2 separate regions of the Homo sapiens genome follow, and region 2 is linked to region 1. The links are contacts of gene promoters, found by promoter capture Hi-C in human tissues and cell types (Jung and others, 2019). All regions are on one chromosome and are shown on one strand. The core of a region is centred on a gene start or on the middle of the fragment in contact, and the rest is flanking DNA. Distances in the headings are between cores, read along the strand shown. Region 1 holds the start of SOX5 (SRY-box transcription factor 5). Region 2 overlaps SOX5 (SRY-box transcription factor 5).

What was found. Contacts are between HindIII fragments. The study calls those that stand out against the background at their distance.
Region 2: a fragment that was not itself captured here is called in contact with the fragment with the promoter of SOX5 in region 1 in 2 of the 25 tissues and cell types used here (heart right ventricle and stomach).

The regions. Positions count from the first base shown.
Region 1 is chr12:23,947,589-23,951,507 of GRCh38, reverse strand. SOX5 (SRY-box transcription factor 5) reads left to right here and starts at 1,838. Exons shown (of 15, transcript NM_006940.6): 1 at 1,838-1,944. The coding sequence starts at 1,907. The HindIII fragment of the contact is 5,378 bases long and covers 1-3,919 here.
Region 2 is chr12:23,759,549-23,763,467 of GRCh38, reverse strand. The region is part of intron 3 of SOX5 (SRY-box transcription factor 5); the gene reads left to right. Among named protein-coding and RNA genes, the nearest start is that of SOX5, 190 kb to the left of the region's middle. The HindIII fragment of the contact is 3,281 bases long and covers 359-3,639 here.

The DNA.
Region 1 (3,919 bases), core at 589-3,088:
TGATGTATCACTGTGAATGTCTAAAAAAGTAAACTTACTGTTTGCCTGTCTCCAGAAAAAAAAGTGGGACCTAATCAAACTGCCGTGGGGTCAACCCTTGTGGTTTTAAAGGCCCTTAATGTTGTCCAGCTGCAAAATAAAAGGAATTGGGAGGGGAAGTTGGAAGGAGTGGAGGGGGTTGGGGGGGAGGAATGTGTGGAAAAGAACAGGGAGTCTGGCTTTTATTTTTTTTTTAAGTGAGTTCAGTGCCAGCCTGGACATTGGCTGTACAGACTATTGAGCCATTGTCTGCTCCATTTCCAGAATAGCCCCCAGTTAATCACTTCGGCTTTGAAGGGAATTTCCTCGTGGAATTCTCCACAGAAAATCTAATCAACTGACCTGCCCTCTCAACAATGGAAGGCTTTTTTTTCCTCTCTTTCCCTTATTGGGGCGGGCTCTGTAATGTAGCCTTTTGTGCAGAATGAACCCTCCCAGTAGGAGTGGAGAGCGTGCGTGAGTGAGTGTGTGTGTGTGTGTGTGTGTGTGTGCATGCGTGTGTGAAGAATGCACACTATCTCCTGTTGGTAAGTGTGTGCTTACTCCCTGACCAGATGCTGCGGTGCACGGGGCAGCCACCATCTCTGCATGCATGTCTGTGTAAGTGTCTCTCTCTCTGTGTGTATGTGCCTCTGTCATTTCGTGTCAAAGGTACATTACCTGATTACCTTTCTCGGCTGCCAGATTTTTATCTAGATAATTGGAACTGCTATGGAGGCTGTGCCTTGCCAGCCAGCTTAGAATCTGTAAAGCCATAGTTTGTCCACCTTGTTATCTGTGGCTGCCTGGGCAGAGGAAATTAAAGAGATCCACAGCCAGGGGGGCGCTTCCTACTCCTGACCTCCCCAGCGATCCCAAACAGGACAGTTTGTTAGTACCGTCTTTTTGTTTTTATGTTTTGATTTCGTTTTGGGTTTTTGTTCGCTCGTGTATGTTATTTTGGCATGTGGATACCTATTCCCCTCCACATCGCACATCGTGTTTTATGGAGTTTAGAGCTGAGGAAACTTTGGTCGGGTTGCCAGGACGTTCGCACCACTTTGCGGAAAGCACGAGCTAACAGTGAGACCGACAGAGTGAGTGACAAGTTGTTTACAGGTTTCCTTGAAGGGGCCTCTGCTATATTTCAATCTGTCAAAGTTGCTTTTCTTCCCTCAGAACAATGCCTGATTGTTGTGTGTGTGTGAGTGTGTGTGTGTGTGTGTGCGTGTATTTCCGTGTGTGAACGGAGAGAGCCTAGAAAAGGGTGAGAAGGAATAACAATTCTTTGTGTAAAAATGCTATTACTAACATTAAATTTTTTGCTTAATTAGTTAATAAATGCAGTTTAATCGAGCTTCTGTTATTATATAGACTAGGTTTTTAATCAGCAGCAAATACGTTTTACAAAATCATACTGTTCTGCGTGTGTATGTGTGTGTGTGAGTTTTATGATTTAGAAGACAGAGTATGGGAGACGTGTTAAATGAGTTGACTTCTCACATTCAGTGATGTCTAGAAGAGAGAATTAAAAGGAAAGGACAGGCACCCTGAGGTTGTCTAGAGCCTTGCAGCCGGAGCGTGTGGCTCCGCGGAGGGGGGAGCAGCCAGACTCCGCTGCTGGAAGTGCACTACCCCTTTAAGAGACTGGTCAAGGAGTCCTAGGAGAGAGAGGAGGGGAAGGAGGGGGGGAGAAAGAGAGAGAGAGAGAGAGAGAGAGAGACAGAGAGAGAGAGGGAGAGAGAGAGAGAGAGAGAGGGAGGGAGGGAGGGGGGGAAGAGACAGAGAGAAAATCAATTGGTTTAGAAGGTTTGGACTCACTTGACAGGTTCAGTTGGAGACGATCATAGGTGGCTGCTGTGACAAAGGGAAATTGTGCTTTTCCAGCATGCTTACTGACCCTGATTTACCTCAGGAGTTTGAAAGGTGAGTACAGTTTTTTCCCCCTAATATATTGAAGTACAACTCTCCCATTTTACAGTAGTCTCTGAATCATTGGAAGATGCTCCCCCAAAACGTGTTTGTTAGAGAAGCCTTTAGCTAGGGCTTCTGCAATCTTGTTAGCTGATTTTTTGTTGTGATTGCCCGGACCAAACTGAACTGATTTGCAAAGTCTCCGAGATTTCTGCTAATGTTTTTAGGTTGCGTCCTATAACAGCAAATTAAATGAACCTTAAGCATCTCTCTCTCTCTCCCCAACTCGCTGCTTCTGTCTTTCTCATTCACTCTCTTACTTTCTTCCTTCATTGATTGTTTTCTCCCCACCTTTTAAAAACGCTTTTGTGCAGAATGTTACCATTTTCAGCATCTCTGTCTCATGTAATTTCTAGGGTGACAGAAGGTTTTAGTGGTGCTTTAAACGGAGGCTATAAGTTCCTATTTGATCCTTCCGTAAAACTTTGGAAGCTGCTCAGTAAAGCACATGACCTTTTGTTGATATAAGAGAGCGTTTTTTCCCCCCAAAGAAAATTTAACATCATCGCTATATTAGATTACTCCCTAAGTGTCAAAAATAGGGGCGAAAAGGGGATAAATGGAGCTGTTCCCTTTCTAAGTTTTAGTGGCCACTTTTTGTGTTAGCTGTCTTGACTGAATTTTAATTTACTGTATTTTCCCCTTTTGCTATGATGGGAATAGTGTATTTGTAATTAAGTTGTTCCTATTTAGAGAAATATCTGCAGCATCCTTTTATTTGATGTTGTTGCAAGTAAAGCAGGGCTTTGAAAGAATTTTAGCCCTCTTAATGTTCCTATAAGTACACATTGCAATTTTTAAATTTGAGTTCTTATCCCAGCATAAGTTCATTTTTTTGAACTATAAATAGAATTTTGTTTGCCATTAAAAAGAATTCAAACTTTGTATTCTGTATGGTGAATTAAAAAAAAAAAAGCTAAAAAAAGCCAGGATGCATGATACCCAGGCTTTTTTTCATTTTCATGAAAGCTACCTTCTGTATAAACATTTGTTGTATCTGACTATGCAATGCAAGCTAGGTGCTAGACCAGCTGGTTAAAAATATGCTAAGTCAAGCTGTTCATCGCTCAAACGACTGAATTTGATATGAAAAGACGAAAAAAGAAAGGACAAAGATTAAAACATTCTAGAAGTGAAGCAATGGAAGAGAAAAAGAGTATTGAGGATAAAGTAACGCTTGAATGTGGTCACATATTAGAAAAGCCAGTATCAAATCAGGGAAGAAAGTAAAATAGCCAACACATATACTTCGGTGCTGTCATCTTTCTTTGATTTCTTCTGTGTTTTTTTTTTTAATAATTAAATTGCATCTTTACTAGATAATTCCAGCGAATGTTTGAGCTTTCTTAACAGTTTTGAATTAAAATTTTCACTTCTATATATTAACTCTTTAATTAGTGAGCTTTTATTTGCAAATATAGCCTTATATCATAGGTAGATGTTGAAGTTATTCATAGTGGAACATACTGTACATTACCTAATGTAGCGATTTGCTAATTTAACACAGTTAAGTTTTCTAGAATGCACAGAGTAGCACTTAAATGATAATATTCTTTAATTCTAATTATACTTTTTGCAAATACAACTCTGAGGCTGATTTGTAAGCCTGTTAACAGATTGTACTTATAAAAAGGTAGTTACATATTAACAGGCTGTAGCCTATTTCTCTATATAGGCAAGCTTCCTGCTGTGAACTTTATTTGTATTTTTTTTTCAATTATCTCTTTTTAAACTAAACTTTTCCCTTTCCTATTCTGATGCTCAAATCTGTTAACATCTTTTTTCCTCCTGGTGGGAATTTCATTTTTTTTTTTCACCCAGAGGCATGCTTTTCTAACTAGCTAATTAAATAAGCAAGTGATAATCAATAGGGTTGTTAGTATGACTATCATATTTAGAAATATTAGTAGCTAAAATAATTCTGAAA
Region 2 (3,919 bases), core at 750-3,249, 190 kb after region 1:
ATTTCATAAAAATGGGTACAAGTAGCCCTATTACTCTTTGATGAAACTTTTGATTTTGGGGTAGTTTTCATGACAGGCAAGGTGAAGCATATTTTACTTGATTTTTTGAAATTATTTTCCTAGGTTGTTTTATAGTAAGTTGTAGTTGTAATGTTAGTCAACATTTTTGGGTGTCACTATGTGCCTGGCACTGTTTTAATGGCGTTACATAAATTATCTCATTTACTTCTCACAACAAGCATATGAAGTAAGTGCAGTTATTAGCCTCTTTTGCAGGTAAGTGAATGGAAGCATAGAGAGGTTACATTACTTGCCAAAGGGCACAAAACTTAATAAGTGATGGAGTCAGGTTATATGTGACATTATATTATCATTGTAAATATTTGGTAGTAAAATATAAAGGAGATTTTGTGCATGAGGACTAGCTCTTCAATTTCTTGTTGAAATGCTGGGATTTAATATTTGAAATAAGAACAAAACAAAGAGTTGTAGTCTATATAAGAAAATGCAGTTACTTTGTGAGTGATAGAGTGGATGAAAGAATGATTTTCTATCACATATGAATAATGCCTATCTTTTAGTGGAGATTTTTGTATAGAAAATATGTCTTGTGAGGAGTAAACCTAAGGTTATTGATATGTAGTAATGATACCATATTGATTATGGCATAATCATGTGATAAAAGATATTCTTCTAAAATGTGATATAAAACCAATTATAATTGAGCAGGTTCAGCTGATGCAACAAGAAAATTTAAGCCTATGACTAATGATTTAAGTATTACATTACATTTTTCTAAAAACTTCACATTAAAAATTGTAAAACTTGAGTCAGCCAAAGACTTTTTTTTTTTTCTTTTTGTATTAACAGGCTCTCATTAACTTTCAAGTGGAAACAAACAAGTATTTTGGCAATACTAAACGTAAAGTATTTCCAGTGTTTAATTCACTTCAGGACAATCACATATAAAAATAAAGCTTATCTAAATCTTAATGCTATGGAGTTTCTTGTGTGTTTCTATTGTTTGTTGTGGTATGTGTTATATTACGAATTTTTTAGAGGGGGGAATCTTGCTACATTGCCCAGGCAGGAGTGTGGTGGCTATTCACAGGTGCAAACAAAGTACGCTACAGCCTCAAGCTCTTGGCCTGAAGCAGTATTCTCGCCTCAGCCTCCTGAGTAGCTGGGACTATAGGCCCACCACTGTGCCCAGGTTATTTTTTGATATTTCCTAGAAGAACTTGGTATGTCCAGTGGCCGACTAGCTGTAATACTTGACTAAGGGGACTGTTAAGGGGCCTTCTGGTTTTTAGTGTACAAATAGCTTTCCAGATATGTAAAGGTCAATATTACTTAAACTGTGCTGTTTAATATTTGCTCCCTAATATTGTGTAGATATGCAGCTATTGTCAACATGAATTGAACTCTTACTGATATATGATTTCCAGATTTAGCTCAATCTTCCCCTCAAAAATAATTTTATTATACATAACTTAATAAATAGCAACATATTAAAGTGTAATTAGCCTTTTGAAGAAAAATAAATTCGGTTAAATAAATGCACTAACTTGTATTTATTCTTCAGTTTCATGGTGCTACCAGATGAAAGCTTCCAAGAGTAGAACATCAAGTTAACAGTACCTAATTTAAACAGATTATCGAGTTAATAATACTTAGTTCTAAAACAGACTAGCCCACAGTACCACCTATCAAATAATTACTAATTTAAGCTAGACAAAGTGAATAAAATAGAACTACAATTTCATTTTTCAAGAGTTTGGCCGTCTATTTAAAAAACTTTGTGGTAGTATGTGATATACTGTTAAGAACACTGAACTGGAAATTGGACTGCAAGTTCTGCCTTTATATAGGTTTGTGATATTAGGCAAGTTATTTAGCATCTCTAATTGGTACTTTTTTAGTCTGTAAAATGAAAAGTTTGGTCTAAACCAGTTATTACCCAAATCGTATTGAGCCATACACACGGTCATCTCCCAACACTAATTTCCTTGGTCAAATATTTTAAAAATACTACATAATCTGTAACTAGTTTAAAAATTACCAACCTGTTAGTACCTAAAATGATCTAAATCTTGTAGAGAGGAAATATAAATTTGTTTAGTGTTAATTAGATTTGCATGACAATCGAATGCGTGTGTTGTTTTAGTTTTAAGTAGCCAAACCATTTATGTTCCATTTATGTCAGATATATGTTTTCCTCAATTGCTTTTATGAAGTGCTTATCTAAATGATATATAAAGACCTTTTCAGCTCTATAATTCTTATTTTATGGCATGAATAGTCTACATGTGCTTTTACTTTCTTACTTTGAAGGAGATATTGGTATATTTTGAAATCTAGTTACCTCCAGAAGACAACTTCCATTCCTCAATGTGTACACTATCACATGTCAAGAATAAAACAGCTTAGTTTAAGCTGCAAAATTAAAGTATCAACAGTGATAGGTTTGGTATAACCTAACTCCTGTGACTTTGTTTAAAAGTCAAATATCATACATAGCGTACTTTTTGTTTGTTCGATTTTTCAATGAGCTCTGCCACAGCAGCTGAAGGGAGATTAAGGAAAAAAACCTACATAAACACAAAGCAAATACCTGAGCTTGTGTGTAAAGCTACTGCACTGGAGCAAATGTGGTTTAATTCTTGGCACTGGCAGCTTGTTGGAGAATTACAATATGTTGGCATGAGTCTCTAGGTCTCATTGTTCCAGATGAGGGAGTCGGTCTTAAGAGTGTTTGGCACTGAAGGGAAAAAGGAGTGAGAGTTATAGGGAATGAGCAGGCCCTAAAGAGGCAGGATGCTGTTGTAACAATGGCTGGCACAGTTGGGGGGGGCCATTCACTGGTGGGGATTGCCATAGGCATTGATGTGAAGAAGCATATGTGAGCAAAAGAGGCAAGAGTGAGAAGGGAAAAGCAAGCAAATGTATCAGAAGGGTCCTGTTGGCAGAAAGAAACAATAGCGAGCCAATTAGACTCATCTTAATATTAGTGTGTTGATGATGAAGGGTATATTTTATTTTGAATTTGTCTTATATCCGTCCTATTTCCTAACTTTATGTTCTTTTTTAAAATATAAGCATTTACCTTTCCCCTAAAGAGACAGATCCTGAAATTAAGAGAACCTGGTTTTGTATTCCATCTGTTCTACTTACTGATGAGCTGATGTTGGGCAAAGCATCTTTCTGAGCCTTAGTTTCCTCATCTGCAAAATGGATATAACAATTATATATGCCACTGACAAAATTGTATCTGGCAGCATTCTGTAAATGGAAATGCTATGCAAATAATGATTATTAACTCACACTTATTTTTAATCTAGGGAGCCCTAGTTCTTACTTTGAAGGTAATCATGATATTCCAGTACTTGGGAGAATGAACTCTCAGGAGGAGGAATTTTCAGGAGACTCTTTTAGAGTTAAGTGAAAAACATGACACATCTTAAAATGAAAATAGAAGAAACTCATAAATACATACATCTACTGGGTACGCACAAAAATTTAAAAAAAATTAAAGGAAACTCCAGAATTTGAACATTTGCAAATAACTGGGCACCCCACATACCATATTCATAGTACAAAATACGATTCTATGCTTGTGCATTTTTAAAATCTTATTTTAGAAAATTAAATATTTAATAGATAATTACTGTATTCACTTCATAAGCAGTGAAGCAGCACTTACACTTACATAATTGTGTCAAATTTCACTTTACTCATATTCACACGTTAACAAACAGGTGTATTGTAAATATTGGGCTTCTGCCATTTGGTCCTTTACATTTTGAAACATGCATTTTCTACCATATCTTTACCATTTTCAGAGAAATTTAATCACTGCTACATGTCCATTCATTGTGCTCATTATTATGAGATTATTTCTTACTGTTATTTCAAGAAC